6 separate regions of the Homo sapiens genome follow, and regions 2, 3, 4, 5 and 6 are each linked to region 1. The links are contacts of gene promoters, found by promoter capture Hi-C in blood cells and fetal thymus (Javierre and others, 2016). All regions are on one chromosome and are shown on one strand. The core of a region is centred on a gene start or on the middle of the fragment in contact, and the rest is flanking DNA. Distances in the headings are between cores, read along the strand shown.

The links. The method cuts DNA at HindIII sites, captures the fragments that hold promoters and counts their contacts. A CHiCAGO score of 5 or more calls a contact.
Region 2: a fragment that was not itself captured here is called in contact with the fragment with the promoter of SGMS1 in region 1 in 5 of 17 cell types (monocytes, total B cells, M2 macrophages and 2 more); the score reaches 9.1 in monocytes.
Region 3: a fragment that was not itself captured here is called in contact with the fragment with the promoter of SGMS1 in region 1 in 13 of 17 cell types (total B cells, monocytes, M2 macrophages and 10 more); the score reaches 10.8 in total B cells.
Region 4: a fragment that was not itself captured here is called in contact with the fragment with the promoter of SGMS1 in region 1 in 1 of 17 cell types (monocytes); the score reaches 5.1 in monocytes.
Region 5: a contact is called between a fragment that was not itself captured here and the fragment with the promoter of SGMS1 in region 1, in 16 of 17 cell types (monocytes, total B cells, activated CD4 T cells and 13 more). The highest score is 15.0, in monocytes.
Region 6: a fragment that was not itself captured here is called in contact with the fragment with the promoter of SGMS1 in region 1 in 2 of 17 cell types (monocytes and activated CD4 T cells); the score reaches 7.4 in monocytes.

The regions. Positions count from the first base shown.
Region 1 is chr10:50,622,672-50,625,371 of GRCh38, reverse strand. SGMS1 (sphingomyelin synthase 1) reads left to right here and starts at 1,416. Exons shown (of 11, transcript NM_147156.4): 1 at 1,416-1,665. SGMS1-AS1 (SGMS1 antisense RNA 1) reads right to left here and starts at 421. Exons shown (of 4, transcript NR_126411.1): 1 at 181-421. RefSeq lists silencers at 249-878, 1,003-1,160, 1,209-1,468, 1,729-2,068 and enhancers at 1,019-1,547, 2,259-2,658. The HindIII fragment of the contact is 12,791 bases long and covers 1-2,700 here.
Region 2 is chr10:50,390,073-50,392,916 of GRCh38, reverse strand. All of the region lies in intron 6 of SGMS1 (sphingomyelin synthase 1), which reads left to right. Among named protein-coding and RNA genes, the nearest start is that of ASAH2, 140 kb to the right of the region's middle. RefSeq lists an enhancer at 1,394-1,920. The HindIII fragment of the contact is 3,672 bases long and covers 1-2,844 here.
Region 3 is chr10:50,448,639-50,451,338 of GRCh38, reverse strand. All of the region lies in intron 5 of SGMS1 (sphingomyelin synthase 1), which reads left to right. Among named protein-coding and RNA genes, the nearest start is that of SGMS1, 170 kb to the left of the region's middle. The HindIII fragment of the contact is 1,440 bases long and covers 579-2,018 here.
Region 4 is chr10:50,482,266-50,484,965 of GRCh38, reverse strand. All of the region lies in intron 3 of SGMS1 (sphingomyelin synthase 1), which reads left to right. Among named protein-coding and RNA genes, the nearest start is that of SGMS1, 140 kb to the left of the region's middle. The HindIII fragment of the contact is 2,263 bases long and covers 282-2,544 here.
Region 5 is chr10:50,408,274-50,410,973 of GRCh38, reverse strand. The region is part of intron 6 of SGMS1 (sphingomyelin synthase 1); the gene reads left to right. Among named protein-coding and RNA genes, the nearest start is that of ASAH2, 160 kb to the right of the region's middle. RefSeq lists an enhancer at 494-994. The HindIII fragment of the contact is 3,180 bases long and covers 1-2,700 here.
Region 6 is chr10:50,465,206-50,467,935 of GRCh38, reverse strand. SGMS1 (sphingomyelin synthase 1) reads left to right here. Exons shown (of 11, transcript NM_147156.4): 4 at 1,004-1,046. Among named protein-coding and RNA genes, the nearest start is that of SGMS1, 160 kb to the left of the region's middle. The HindIII fragment of the contact is 8,199 bases long and covers 1-2,730 here.

The DNA.
Region 1 (2,700 bases), core at 167-2,666:
GCGGGGTATGCGCTGCAGGGAAGAGCACGGCCTCTGTCCAATGTCCCTGCCGGTACATCACTCCTCTGCAGGGACTAGGTTAGAACCGGGAGGCAGCCAGAGCAGCGCTCTCGCTGGATAACGGAAGAGGACTCCCTCGCCAACTTCCGCCTCTGGGGAAAAGCGGGGACCCTCCGCCACCTGAGTTCTGTTGTCTCGATTTCGCCGCAGTTTGCTTCTGGCCCGGGCGAGAACCTGTCCTCTGGGCAAGCCAGGGGTCGGTACAGGACTCCTATACCCCAAGGCGAGGCGGAGGCAGGTGCCGAGCGGTGGCCAGAGTCCGGCGCCCAAAGCCCGATGGGAGGGCGTGGCGGGGGAGGACGGTCCCGCCAGCTCCCAGGTCGGTTCCGAGCGCCCGCGGCCCGATGGCCGGGCGGAAGATGGCTGCCCGGAGCGCCGCGGACAGTCACGTGGTACGCCGGGCCCGTAGCCGCGCCCCTTCCCCCGCTCGCCAAGTCCCCGACCCCGCGGGAGGCACGGCCTCGGGCTGCCTGTAGGCCACCGAGGTGCGGCGCGGGCCGGCCAGGGACGGCGGGCATCGGGGCGGGAAGGCCAGCTCTCCCCGCTGTCCATCCTAACTTGGGCGCTGGGGCTTCGCTCGGGGAGCAGAGGAAAACCTTCCTTCAGGCGACTTGCACCACGTGGGGCTACTGGGCATGCGCGGGCTCCGACCCCGGCCTAGCCGCTCTCCGGGTTTTCGCCGCAGCTCGGAGGGGCGGCGGAAGGTGGGCCCCAGGCGGGGCGGGGCGGCTCTGACGCAGTCGGAGTTTTCACCTCGCGCGGTTAGAGCTCTTGCGCCTCCGTCGCGCTCCCAGGCGTCGCCAGAGGCTTTTTTTTTCTGTTGTGGGAGAAAGATGAGAGTCTATGGTTAGAGGTTTGAAAATGGGCCGAATAGTCAGGTCGGCCGTTTCCTAGGAATGATCCATTGGGCATTAATCCCAAGTGTCGCAGCCCTTGGGCTTGGTGGGAAAAAGAATCCAGTAGTAGTTCGCAAACTCGTGCCTGGCTTCCAGCAGGCTGAGTTTGCGTTCCCTGCTTTGTGACCAGCTCTAGCGGCTCCCGTCTCCGGCCCTGCCCCAAGGGATTTACCGTCCCAGATTGTAAAATCTGGCTCCCGCTAGGCCTTACTTAGTGGGCCCCTAAAAACGCTGGGGAAAGCGCCCGCCTCCTCAGTTTCCCATTACTTGAAAGTAAAATTCAAGGGGCCCAAACTGCGACTGTCCCTTGGTTCGGGGTCCCGCTCGGTCCCGGGAGGAGCCCCCCGCGGACCCCGCCCGGCCGGCCCGCCCCCCCGGCCGCAGTGAACACCCGGAGGAGCGGAGTCGCGTCGCGCGGGAAGCCGGGCCGGCTCGGGCAGCGGACTGGGCATGCTCGGCAGCCCGGGAGGCTCGCGGTGGCAAGTCGAAAGCGTTCGCACCAGCGGGGCAGCGGCTGCGGGCGGCAGGCGGCGGGCAGGTCGGGAGTGAGAAGGACCGGCCTGGGCTGACTGCTCTCCCCTCGCGCCTAGGGAGCCGGTCGGAGAGCGCGATTGGGGTGCGGAGCCCCGACGCTGCCCTGCCCCGGATTTCATTCCGCGGCGGGGGCTCCGCGAGCGGAATTCCGGCGGCTGCCGTGACTCCAGTGCAAGTGAGTCGTGGGGCAGGGACAGACAGCCGGCCTCACGGTTGCGGGGGCCGATCGGACACCTGTCTCGCGGGCCCGGCCTTATGCCGGGGAGCAGCGGGCGGGCTGCTCTGGGGCGAGGGGGCGTGAGCGCAGCCCGCGCGGTGCCGCGCGCGTACCTGGCGGGCAGTCCTCCAGAGCTGCTGCTCCCGTGGGTGGTCACAGCGGGGAGGTCCGGCGGCCGGGATCCGGGCTCGGAGGGGGCGGGCCGCCGGCGGGGCTCCCCGGCTAAGTTGGGGCGGGGAGGAAGGAGGAGGCGTCAGTGGGCACCTTTTCAGAGCTACTGCGTGCGGGCTGGAAGGCTGCCTGGTGTCGGATTGGGGCGATCGGGAGGCGGGGAGCCTTTGGGCAGTAGCCCGCCCGGGGTCCGGAGACCCCCACCCAGGGGCCGACTCCAATCACGGCTCCACCCCCACAGCCTAGGTGGCGGTGTGACAGTTGGTACCTTCGGTCCAGATCGCAGCCGGCCAGGCGCCCACTATTTCGGGATCCCCCCACCGTAGCCCCTCGATGCCCCCTGACGACAAAACAGGTGGGACCCCCCCTCCCCGAGGAGCGCTCCCCTTCTCTCCAGGCCGCGTAACAGCCCGCCAGGCTCGCGGGCGGCTCTGAGACCCCGCAGGGCTGCCCCCGCGGGGCGGGGACGTTTAGGGGCAAGGCCTGGAGGGGAATCGGCGCAGCCCAGAACTGGACAGTCTCTCCAGGACGCCGCTTTTCCGTGACAGAGGGGGTCTGCGCTATCCCCCAGCGACGTGTCAAGGGCAAAACAGCAGCAGCAGCGGCTGCCTCTCCCACCGTCTTAACCCGAACTCGGGCTTGTGGCGTCCTCCCGTGGGCCGGATAGAGTGCCCTAGTCCAGCTAACGGATTCAGCCTGGAGCGTTCTGGTGAATGCTGCTTTCCTCTTTGGTGCCGCGAAGTAGAAATCGGGATAAGGGTTGTCATGGCCGGAGGGAGCGAAGAGAATCCAGGCAGGTGCTTCTCAGATGTTTCTTTTCAC
Region 2 (2,844 bases), core at 35-2,534, 230 kb after region 1:
ATTTATTATGGCAGTTTAAAAAAACACAGAATGTAAAGTGAATAGTAGAATGAACTCCATATCCGTATCTCCCAGCATTAACAATCAACTTTCTGGATTCTTGTTCTCTCTCTCCCTTTCCCCTACTTAGTTCTGGGGAAAGAGGGGCAGTATTTTAAGACAAATCCCAGACATCATACCATTTCACTCCCATACTTTGTTGTCATGTTCGTTTTTCAATTATTTACCTTTTGTCTGTTGACTTTTCTTTCTCTTGTTTCTGAAATAACACTTGGACTGTGCCCTGGTGATGTTATGAAGGTACACTTTCTGGTAGTGTTGTCCTTTGCATGGCGCTTGCTGGGCTGGTCTTCATGGATCCTGAGGAAGACAGCTCTGCTGGTATGCAGTTCACGTCTCAGTAGAACCTAGTCACCAGTAGAACCCAGAGGTATCACTGCTACCTCGCGACCTTGTACAGTTAGGTGAAAGACTGTGCACTTGTATACTATGTTTAGAAGAAATGGACTCAAATCTAAGTCATGATGATGTTTATTATTTTTTAAACCCATAAAGAAACCATGGCTTTGATTAAGACTCTCTAAATGGATATAGCTAGATTCTATTTTGTTTTTCTAATTACATAGACAGAAAACTTTTGACATTACAAATTAATCATTTATAAGTTTGCCATCTTTTGAGTACAGTAATAATTTATTTGTGCAACATTTCAGTTTTTTTTTTTTTAACTTTTACTTTAGGTTCAGAGTACATGTGCAGGTTTGTTATATAGGTAAATTGCGTGTCATGGGGATTTGGCGTACAGACCATTTCATCAACCAGGTAATAAGTATAGTACTCGACAGGTAGTTTTTCAAGCCTGACCTTCCTCCCACCCTCCACCCTCAAGTAGGCCCTGGTGTCTGTTGTTCCCTTCTTTCTGTCCGTGTGTACTCAGTGTTTAGCTTCCACTTATAAGTGAGAGCATGCACTATTTGGTTTTCTGCTCCTGCATTACTTCACTTACGATAATGACCTCCAGCTCCATCCATGTTGCTGCAAAGGACATGATCTCATTCTTTTTTTTTTTTTTTTTTAATGATTGCATAATGTTCCATGGCATATATATACACCACATTTTCCTTATCCCGTCTATCATTGATGGACATTTAGGTTGGTTCCACATCTTTGCCATTGTGAATAGTGCTATGATGAACATACATGTGCACATTCTTTATGATAGAACAATTTATATTCCTTTGGGTAAATACCCAATAATGGGATTACTAGGTCTAATGGTAATTCTGTTTTACGTTCTTCGAGAAATCACCAAACTGCTTTCCACAATAGTTGAACTAATTTACATTCCCACCAGCGGTGTGTAAGTGTTCCCTTTTCTCCACAATCTTGCCAGTATCTGTTACTTTTGGCTTTTTAATAATAGCCATTCTGACTAGTGTGAGATGGTATTATTGTGGCTTTGATTTGCATTTCTCTAATGATTGGCAATGCTGAGCATTTTTCCATATGCTTATTGGCTGCATGTGTGTCTTCTTTTAAAAAAAATTCAGCTTTTAAAAGTTTCCATGTAAGTTATCATGTTCAAGTCCCACAACAGCACTGCAAGTAAGGAAAAGTATTAAATTCCTCCCAGTTAAGTCAGAGAAAAGTGGAAGATGAGAGGGGATTAGTTAATGACTTGATTTTAGGTCTGTGGTCTCCTAGACTAGAAGTCCTTTCTCTTTTAAATGTGTTTTGAGTTGCTTTGGAATGGTTTTGAAATGGAAATGTGCCTTGTTCTTTATATTTGTTTCTTCAAAGTTTTGTCTTTTGTTTGGAAAATTCTCAATACCTCTGACCAGGTCTTGGAGATGCTCGGGCAAACTACACGCTTCTTGGCATCCTATTCCAGGACAAGGCCAGGGCAGAGTGCATAGCCCCTCTTGGAGCCGTTTTATTCCTGACATTACCCTCTCTCCGCTATGACTTTGGTTTCTACCTCTCCACTGCTACCCCAGACCCAGGCTGTGACCATTACCAGGGATTTTTATTTGGGTATGCTGGTGACTTTTGTGACAGAGTGGAATTTATTTGAGCCTAAAGTGTCTGGAATTTTTCCTGGAGACTCAAGATACTTGATACAGTAAAGAAATTGTTCTCAGATTCCTCTATCCTTGTAGACATTTTGGTTCAAGCACTTAATTGCCCAATTTCTTTCAAAGGGAGTAATTCCAAAAAAGATTTTTAAAGTATCTAGACATGAACATTCTAATTGTTAGATATTAATTTTTTTTTCTTAAGAGGCAGGGTCTTGTTCCATTACCTAGGCAGGAGTGCAGTGGCACGATCACAGCTCACTGCAGCTTCCAACTCCTGGGTTCAAGCCATCCTCCTGTTCCAGCCTTCCACAGAGCTAGGACTACAGACTACAGGTGTGTGCTACCACGCCCAGCTGACATGAACATTCTATTGACTTAAATTCCTCTGGGGAATAGAGTAATGCTTCAGGGTTTATGCTTTATTCAAAACCAAAGTTCTAGTTTTAACAAATAAAACAAAGTTCAGCTTTATTCAGTAAAGCATAAAAGAAAATAAATTTCTATACCAGCAATCTAAACATTTGTGTACTTTGTTTCTCCCAAAGAGAAACATCAGTTAAAATTGATTTCCTGCTCAAATGTCTTGTCTGCTGCAGGTGTATTTCCTAAAACATGATTTATGCATTTGATTTAGTGACGTTACATGTATTTGTAGTACCGAATAGTTTGAATAATAATTGAACATAATTTCATTGCAGATATTTTAACCATCGGTTATTATTCAATGAATTATTTATATAAAATAGGTTAATATAATTTCAAATAT
Region 3 (2,700 bases), core at 49-2,548, 170 kb after region 1:
TCTGCCATGAGAGGAACCAGAAACATAACATGGTAAACATGCCAACTGGATTCATAGCATCACTTGTCAGCCACATGCTAACATAAGACTACATTATGATTAGAAATTTTAAAATTAATATTTGGAGGGCTTAGAAAGCTATATTTATTATGATTGTTAAGTAGCTGTGTTTGGAAGTTTTAATTTTTTAAAATGTGTAAGCTTGACAGATCTCCACATTTAGCCATTAAAAATCATTTTTTAATAATTATAATGTTTACTTCATATTGGAAATAGTTTCTAAGGAGGAAAATAGTTTGCATCTCATGTTATAAATATTTTCAGACTTTAAAATTACTTAATCCAAAGCATCCACTATTTGTTATTTTTTGTTCAAATTTTAGAATGTAAATATAAATTCTCCTAGAGTTTTCTTTTTCTTTTAACAGTTGTTTGTATTTTTAATGTAATGAGTATATTTCTGAATATTATATCAATGATATTTTTAATAAATTGAATAAATTTAAGTTGATAAGGAAAGTTTATCAAACTAATAATTTTAAAAGGTTTATTAGGAAATTATTAAAATGAAGAAAGCTTTCTTGATGTGGATAAGTCTTTTTCTCTTTTTTGTACTGGGTTTTTTAATCTTGGGTCACTTGATAATTTTTTTATATCACATTTAAAAATGTGTTGGATATTTTTATATTAACTTCCTATATTTATTTCTTCCTGAACTATTTTGGGAAAGAAACCATAATTGAAACACAAATTAGGTAACTAATAGCTTATTTATGGAATCTTTTTCTTCTAAAATGTTTCCTTGGAAAATATTAATTATTAGTATACTCACTTATAGACTCCCATACAGTCAGAAAAGCAGTTGTCAAGAAAAATATTTGAAGGCATGATTATTGTCCCAGCATTCTCACATTCTATTCCCTTTCCCTCTGTTAAAGTGAATAAATCAAAGAAAAATAAAATTGACTTTCTTGTCTGTTTCAGTTATTGGGCCCAGTTAGGGATGGCTAACCAGGGGTGAAGGGCACATAAATAACATCCACTTGTAATCCTTAATCTGCTTTCACACTCACTCCTCTCTTCCACTTTGTTTCCTGTAAAGTATAAATTTCTTAGTCTCATCATATAGAATAACCCAGAATGATATGATTTCACTACCATGGATTTATAGAAATTATTTCTTCTTCCACATTTTTGTTGCTGAATCAACTGTCTTGTGTCATCTCTGACACTGTTATTCTCATTATTAAAAAAAATTCTATTAATGGTTTCATATAGTCTTTTCTCTAAAGATAATATTAACTAAGTGCCTTTTATATTCTAAGGTCTTTATTTACATAATCTTGAATGAAGCCCTGGAATCTTGCAGGGACCTTCATTATCTTACTTCATTCTGTGGATTTTTAGTGACACTTCCATTTTCTAGGCCCTCCTTTAGACATTTTAGGCAGTGAGCAAAATTGACAAGTAGAAAAAAAAAAGAACAACCAACACGTGTATTATGGAGCTAATAGTCTAGTGGGAGAAAGATGACAAACTAGATGAATAAGGAAAATACATGTATGCTAAGTGGTGATCAGGGTTATCACTGATAACCTGTTGGATCAGAGGCTATGGCAAAAAATAAAGAAGAGAAGTGGATGGGGAGTGTAAGTCTAATTGGGGCATGTGTGTACACACACACACACACACACACACGTGCACACACTATTTGTAGAGAAGCCAGGAAGCCCTCATTGAGAAGGCAACATCTAAGTAAGGACATGAAGAAAGTGGAGGGGTGAGCCTGCTGTATCGGGGCAAGACCATCCTAGGAAAGAGTAGTTCAGGGTTAAGTACAGAGCCCTTGATACTTTTTTTATTTTGCAGGAAAGTGGAGCTCAGCCTTGTCTAAGACTACATAGTTCATAAGCACTGGACCTCTTGTTCAGACTCAGATCTGTCATAATCAAAGCCCTGCACTCCCTCCACCACCCCAGGTTACTCTAAAAGGAAATCATTGTTCATCTTAGGAAGCTTTCCAATTCCTAGCAGAATGTGTTATACATTGTGAACACTGAGGATTTAACCATATCTGTTCTCAAGCAAAAATAATACATAGGCAGGTAGGTAGATGGATTAGTTTTCTGTGCTCAACTAACGGAACCTCAAAATTATTACCTGGTTTTCCAGAGCTCTTAAGTTTAAGAAATAAATTTTAAGAGCTACACTTTCTGCTTTTTATTTTCTTTCTCTTTTTAAAACATATTGCTTGCTTTAAAAATTCCTCTGTTCTCATTTTATATGTGAGATTTAAAGACCTAAAAAAATTTCAATAGGTATGTAGTGGTATGTCATGTTGTCTTAATTTGCGTTTCCCTGATGATATATTATGTGGAGCCCTTTTCATATGCTTATTTTTATCCATAAGTCTTCTTTGGTGATTTCTCCATTAAGGTCTTCAGCCCATTTTTAAATCAAGTTAATTGTTTTCTTATTGTTAAGTTTTAAGAGTTCTTTGAATATTTTGGATAACAAGTCTTTATCAGTATGTCTTTTGCAAATATTTTCTCCTAGTGTGTATATGTCTTTTCATTCTTTTTTTTTTTTTTTTTTTGGCGGAGTTTCACTCTTGTTGCTCAGGCTGGAGTACAATGGCACCATGTTGGCTCACCACAACCTCCGCCTCCCGGGTTCAAATGATTCTCCTGCCTCAGCCTC
Region 4 (2,700 bases), core at 164-2,663, 140 kb after region 1:
TGCTTCCAGCTTTTGCCCATTCAGTATAATGTTGGCTGTGGGTTTGTCATAGACAGCTTTTATTATTTTGAGGTATGTTCTTTTAATACCTAGTTTATTGAGAGTTTTTAACATGAAGGGATGTTGAATTTTGTTGAAGGCTTGTTCTGTGTCTATTGATATAATCATGTGGTTTTTGTCTTTAGTTTAGTTTATGTGATGAATTATCTTTATTGATTTGTATATGTTGAACCAGCCTTGCATTCCAGGGATGAAGCCAGCTCGATCATGGTGGGTAAGCTTTTGATGTGCTTCTGGATTCAGTTTGCCAGTATTTTGTTGGGGACTTTTGCATAGATGTTCATCAAGGATATTGGCCTGAAGGTTTCTTTTTTTGTATTTTCTCTGCCAGGTTTTGGTATCAAGATGATGCTGGCCTCATAAAATGAGTTAGGGAGGAGTTTCTCCTCTTTGATTGTTTGGAATAGTTTCAGAAGAAATACTACCAGCTCCTCTTTGTACCTCTGGTAGGATTCAGCTGTGAATCCGTCTGGTCCTGGGTTTGTTTGATTGCTAGGCTATTAATTATTGCCTCAATTTCAGAACTTGTTATTGGTCTATTAAGGGAGTCAATTTCTTTCTGGTTTAGTCTTGGGAGGGTGTATATGTCCAGGAATTTATCCATTTCTTCTAGATTTTCTAAATTTTTTTTGCATAGAGGTGTTTATGGTATTCTCTGATGGTTGTTTGTATTTCTTTGGGGTCAGTGGTGATATTCCCTTTATCATTTTTTATTTTGTCTAGTTGATTCTTCTCTTTTTCTTCTTTATTAGTCTAGCTAGTGGTGTATCTATTTTATTAATATTTTCAAAAAAAGCCAGCTCCTGTATTTGTTGATTTTTTGAAGGGTTTTTTTGCATCTCTATCTCCTTCAGTTCTGCTCTGATCTTGGTTATTTTTGTCTCCTGCTAGCTTTGGGGTTTGTTTGCTCTTTCTTCTCTAGTTCTTTTACTTATGATGTTAGCATGTCAATTTGGGATCTTTCTAGATTTTTGATGTGGTCATTTAATGCTATAAATTTCCCTCTTAACACTGCTTTAGCTGTGTCCCAGAGGTTCTGGTATGTTGTCTCTTTGTTCTCACTAGTTTCAAAGAACTTCTTGGTTTCTTCCTTGATTTCATTATTTACTCAGGAGTCATTCAGGAGCAGGTTGATCAATTTCCATATAGTTGTGTGGTTTTGAGTGAGTTTCTTAATCTTGAGTTCTAATTTGATTTTGCTGTGGTCTGAGAGACTGTTTGTTATGATTTCAGCTCTTTTTCATTTGCTGAGGAGTGTTTTACTTCTAATTATGTAATCAATTTTAGAGTAAGTTGCCATGTGGCACCGAGAAGAATGTATATTCTTTTGTTTTGGGGAGGAGAGTTCTATAGATATCTATCAGGTCCACTTGATTCAGAGCTGAGTTCAAGTCCTGAATATCTTTGTTAATTTTCTCTCTCAGTGATCTGTCTAATATTGACAGTGGAGTGTTAAAGTCACCCACTGTTATCATGAGGGAGTCTAAGTCTCTTTATAGGTCTTTAAGAACTTGTTTTATGAATCTGGCCAGGCACGCTGGCTCATGCTTGTAATCCCAGCACCTTGTGGGGCTGAGGTGGGTGGATCACTTGAGGTCAGGAGTTCAAGACCAGCCTGGACAACATGGTGAAACCCTGCCTCTACTAAAAATACAAAAATTAGCCAAGTATGGTGGTGCATGCCTCTAATCCCAGCCACTCAGGAGGCTGAGGCAGGAGAATCGCTTGAACCCAGGAGGCAGAGGTTGTAGTGAGCCGAGATCATGCCACTGCACTCCAGCCTGGGCGATAGAGCGAGACTGTGTCTCAAAAAACACAAAAAACAAAAAACCCCTCAAAACTTGTTTTTTTATGAATTCGGGTGCTCCTGTATTGGGTGCATATATATGTTTAGGATAATTAGCTCTTCTTGTGGAATTGAACCCTTTACCATTATGTAATGCCTTTCTTGTCTTGGTTGATCTTTGTTGGTTTGAAGCCTGTTTGTCAGAAACTAGGATTGCAACCCCTGCCTTTTTCTGCCTTCCATTTGCTTGGTAAATTTTCCTTCATCCCTTTATTTTGAGCCTATGTGTATCTTTGCACGTGAGATGTGTCTCTTGAATACAGTGCACAGATGGGTCATGACTCTTTATCCAGCTTGCCATTCTGTGTCTTTTAATTGGGGCATTTAGTCCATTTACATTTAAGGATAGTAGTGTTATGTGTGAATTTGATCCTGTCAAATGATCCTAGCCTCATGATGCTAGCTGGTTATTTTGCAGACTTGTTAATGTAGTTGCTTCATAGTGTCATTGGTTTGTGTACTTCAGTGTGATTTTGTAGTGACTGGTAATGCTTTTTCCTTTCTGTATTTCATGCTTCCTTCAGGAATTCTCGCAAGGCAGGCCTGGTGATGACAAATTCCCTCAGTGTTTCGAAAAGGATTTTATTTTCCTTTGCTTATGCCTGAAAAGGATTTTATTTTCCTTTGCTTATGAAGCTTAGTTTGGCCGTATATGAAATTCTGGGTTGGAAATTCTTTTCTTTAAGAATGTTGAATAATGGCCCCCAATCTCTTCTGGCTTGTAGGGTTTCCACTGAGAGTTCTGCTGTTAGTCTGATTGGCTTCCCTTTGTAGGTTACCTGGCCTTTCTCTCT
Region 5 (2,700 bases), core at 173-2,672, 210 kb after region 1:
CACAGCAAACATACAACAAGAGACCATAACTTGGTTATAGAACTATAACTTGATTAAAGGAACTAACATGTTATTCTGAGAGGGAAATTGTCTGAAGAGGAATTTAGAGAAGTAGAACTTGAAGACTGGGATGGGAGACTGAATTTGAGAGGCCAACTTGGCCTAGCTACAGAGAAGGTGCCTTACCCCTAGGGCGGCATTACCAGGTCTCCATATGGGTCTTCCCCTATGGTGGGGCTGTCTGAGGGCTTTTGAAATCTGCCTAAGTTCCAAATCTGAATTAGAGATTGGTCTTGCCCTCATCGGTGAATACCGCTGAGTCCTCCTTAACCTCACAGTGCACAGTGTCAGGCCACACAGGAAGACACAGAACATATTTTTGTTCCATGCCCACTATGCATCCTTCTCATGGTAATTTGGCCACTTCATGTAACTATGCTTTTCAGAGATCTGCCATCAGACATGCCAGCAAACAACCCACCTGATGGTTTACATTCTCACAATAAGGTATTCAGCTCGAGTTTTTACTTTAATGTCACCACAAGTGTGGTCAGTATGAATGCTTTTCTGATCATTGTATTTATAAATTTGCAAGACTAAAGGACAGCCTTGGACTATGTGAGTCTCCCCAGATAACACTGCACTCTAAGGACCAGCTGGCTTCCCCAGGTTTGCTTGTCTTCACCTTGAATGCCCTTTCCTATCTGACTTGCAACACAAGAGTGTCATGACCATCATAATATTATTATCTTTTTTATTGCAATTTAGAAAACGTTGAGAAGAAAAATGAATGTCATTGAGTGCTTATTCATGTGGGAAATGTGGTGTTCTGTTCTGTGAGTGACTCATGTAAACGAGTAAAAGAAACTAGAGTACATTGTTAAAATTACAAGGTAAACTAATTCCTACTTTGCTAGTTAGTGTGTCCTATAATTCTCATTTAAATTGCACAGATTACTAAACAACTACAGAAATTTTCACCCAAAGCAGTTCATAGACAAAATTTCACAGAATTTTTCAGTGTGATTTTATATTGTTAAAATTCTTGTAGACTTATGAAATATACTTTCATTTGGTTCTCAGGATAATAGGCTGTATATAGTTTCTTAGGCATTTTGGGTTCCAGAGCCTGTGGTACTTTCCTATATAATTGTCCTTTTTATATTCTTATATTCCCGTTGATATATTGAAAGAGTTTCCTGAAGTTATCTGTTCCTATATAATTGTCCTCTTTATAGTCTTATATTCCCGTTGATATATCGAAAGAGTTTCCTGAAGTTATCTATTGCTAATATTTAGCATTTACTTTTAGGAGCAAAATTCTCAGGAGAATTGAGAAATCTGTTGTCATTTATTTTGATTATGTCCAAGTAAAGGTCAGAGATATGAAATTAAATGTTTGTAACTGACAAACTAGTCATCACAGTCTACTTCAAAGGGAATGTCTGTCACAGTTTCAGTAGTGCCAGGGTACATAGAGATATGTTGTATGAAAACCATATGGTCTTGGGAAGACTGTAGAGGAATCCTTTTGGGAAAAGAGTATGGAATGGACAGGAACAGTTCAGGGAATAAATGGGATTATATCCAGCGAGGTTGAAGAATAGGAAAAACAGAAACATCCAGTTAGAATAAGTTTTTGTGTTTGATAGCAGAGTAGGGTGACTATAGTTAACAACAATGTATTGTATATTTTGATGTAGCTAGGTGAGAGGACTTGAAATGTTCCCAGCACATGGAAATAATAAATACTGGAGGTCATGGATATCTCAAATACTTTGAGTTGATCATCACAGTCTATGCATGCAAAAACTATCACATGTACCCCATAAATATGTGCAAATATTGTGTATCAATAAAATAAAAAGAAAAGGAAAAATAAAGCAATAATTCTAACATTACCTCTTTCCAAAGTGAGTGCCTCTCACTACTGGGTCTGGACTCTAATCTATATGAATAAAATGAATGGATTTTATTCCCTAAGAATTTGTTAACTAAGTTATCTGAGTAAGTTATATGTCCATGTTTGTAGCCAGTAGCAGGAGGGAGGTCAGGCAGGCTAGGGGTTGTTATAATCTTTTTTTGTTTTGTTTTGTTTTGAGATAGAGTCTCGCTCTGTCAGCCATGCTGGAGTGCGATGGTACAATCATGGCTTACTGCAGCATGAACTCCCAAGCTCAAATGATTCTCCTGCCTCAACTGCCCCCCCGACCCAATAGCTGGGATACTTGAGACGCACCCCAGTAGCTGGGACTACAGGCATGCACCACCATGCCCTGCTATTTTTTTTTTAAATGGAGTCTCACTCTGTCACCCAGGCTGAAGTACAGTGGTGTGATCTCAGCTCACTGCAACCTCTGCCTCCCAGGTTCAAGCGATTCTCCTGCCTCAGCCTCCTGAGTAGCTGGGACTACAGGTGCGTGCCACCACACCCAGCTAATTTTTTGTATTTTTAGTAGAGATGGGGTTTCACCGTGTTAGCCAGGAGCCTCGCTAATTAAAAAAAGTTTTTATTTTGTTTTTTTTTTTTTTTTTTTTTTTTAAGAGATGAGGTCTCAGTATATTGCCCAGGCTGGTCTCTGGGCTCAATCATTCCTTCTACCTTTGCCTCCCAGAGTATTGGGATTACAGGCGTGAGCCACTGCACCTGCCAGTTATAATGTTTTTAAACTGTGACTAGAATGAATAAAAGGGCTAGTA
Region 6 (2,730 bases), core at 226-2,725, 160 kb after region 1:
TTTCTATCATAAACTGCTTCTCTGTCCTTTGGTCTCTGGAGAACTGGCAGATTGACCTCATACAATCAACTAATCAGCCAAAACTTTTTCCTCAGACATGTTAACATCTTTCTGAAATAATACCACTTTGCAGTCAGCCACTACTTGCTCCCCTTTCCTTAAAGCATTTTATTTTTGTCCAGATACAGGGATTCTTAGACTCCCAGACAGATCCCTAAATAATTATACCTAGCCCAACAGGCAAAACTAATGTGTGCTATTTGAAGGCAGGGCAGTGTTGACTTTTTGGGAGAGTGGTGTTCACTTTAAGAAAATTTATTAAGCCACCCAAGATTTCTGGGCTTACTAATTTTTTAAAAAATAGGCTTTTTCCCCTTTCTGCATGTACCCTAATTCATGTGTATATTTTACTTACAAAGGGTCATATTTCATTTTTAGCTGAGAAAGTCTTTCATGAAATAAAACATGGAAGCATTTTTAAGCCTTTAGGGTGATGTGGGTTAGAGTTATTTATAAGCTGTTTGATCATACACTTATGTATGTGGTCTGTGGTTGTTCCACTTAACTTGCTATTGATTGCATTTTGGTAAAAATGAAAATTTATCCCAGGGTGGTAATTATTATGGTTTGAAAAATACGCTTTCTTGCTTCTTTATCTTTTTTATATTGTCAGTTAGCAGTTATTTACCTAAATTGAGAGGAGATAATTTATAAAGGTCCATGGTTTTAAAACTCATGTTATACCATCAGATGCATTTGGTGTGCAGTTTTTTTATTGGCATTGGATTTGCATGCTTGTTTCTGCTTGGCGTTGTCTAATAGAAGTGTACTCTGAATACCATGACAGCCAGAAATTAGTTGGGAATTGGTGAAATAATGCTTTTTTTTTCCTATGTATACGTAACAAGAAGTGAATAATAGTTAACTTGGATTTTAGTTTTTTTTCTTATAAGCAGCTCATTGCACAAAGAATGCACTTTAATTTACTTATTACTTCTTCTAGATTGGAAAGAAGACTGATGAAGAAAAATAACAGCATGATTCAGGTAAACTGATTTTTAAATTATTTACCTTTTATGCTTAATTTGTATTTTCTGTGTTCTCCCAATGAGAGGATCTAAACAAACAATTTTTGTGGGCAATTGGAATATATAAGGAATATCTTGGGGATATAGATGAAATAGTCAAATACATATTACCATTTAATTAATTTAGTTATGTACATATTTTGAACAAGTATGTATTTATACAAAATGGGATATTATAACTAATGCTTTTTTCCTACCCCAGAATAATTTTCTTCCAACTCTTTACATACATATCTGACATCAGTGTCTTCATTATTTGAGTCACATTTTTTAAGCATTCAATATTATTTTCCACAGCCTGTTATCATTTTAGGTGTTTGCAGTACAGCACTTTTGGAGTCTATGTATGGCACTCTATTTGGAAATTTTATCCCAAGCCACAAGTAATCATTTGCATAATGTTAGGACAGTTGCTGTTTTCATTCTTTCTGTGTAGATGAACATTGAAGATCTCTACTGTGTAACAATTTGTAGAACTGCTTTCTTAAGTCTTTCTCCCTTCCTCCCTCCTTTCCTTCCTTCCTTCTTTCCTTTCATTTATTTATTTTATTTGTTTAGAGGTAATTGCATGTATATTGTTTAAGAATTCAAATAGTACTCTAATAGCCATTCTTTGTTCTTTTTATACTCTTATTGCCCCTTTGCCTAAAGATAGCCCTTTTCAATCCTTTTAGTTGTATTTTCCAGTATTTGTCTACCTATTTCTAAACAACACATCATATGCTCTAAGTGCCATTTACTGATTCCTTTTAAAATCTTAGACTTATGCATTGATTTCCTGCCGGGGAGTTCTCTCTCATAGACCACCCTTTACCCTTACTACATACCTACTTTTCCTGTCTCTTTATTTTCTTGATGCAGTCATTGTTACAGTCTATATTTAGATAAGTATTAATGTCTACTTTATTATTTTTTTTGTGGCTGAGCTCTGTGATATAAGTTGAGATGTCTCAAGTCATTCTGCCTCCAAGTTGGTTGTTTGTGAACTGTTTTTTTTTTGTCTCTGGAAAATGTTTCATGCTTTTCTTTATGCCCAGAATTCTGCAGTTTCATATTGGGACACTTTTTGTTGTTTTTGTCCTCTCAGCTTGGAAACTGATGTCTCTCAATTTGTAAATTTTCTTGTACTATTTCTTTGATAATTTCCCCCCCATTCTCTCTTTTCTTAGTCTGTTAGTTGGGTATTTTCACCTACTAGTTTGATCTCTAATTTTCTTAAGTCTTACTCTTAGCTATTTTCCATCTTTCTGTGTTTTTCTTCAACTTTCTGAGAGGTTTTCTTAGTATCAATTGAATTTTTAATTTCTGCTAGCAGGTTTGTAATTTTGAACTTAATTTTTGAGGGTCTATGGATATTTTGTTTTTAAAATTAGGATCCTGTTTTTGTTTGATAGATGCAATATTTTCTCATTTTTTTTTGAGAATATGAATTGAATTATTTTGCTGTTTTTTGCTGTTCTTTGCACATTTTCCTGTGTGTTCCCTTTATCTTCTTGTTTTGATCCCTGATTTTAATGTTAAAGGCTCTTCCCAAATGAGTGCTGGGGATTTAGTTGTCTGTTCATACTTAAGAGTGAGACAATACAAAATGGACCGCAAATTTGTTACGTGGTTGGCTTCACTCTAAGGTCTTTGGGCAGAG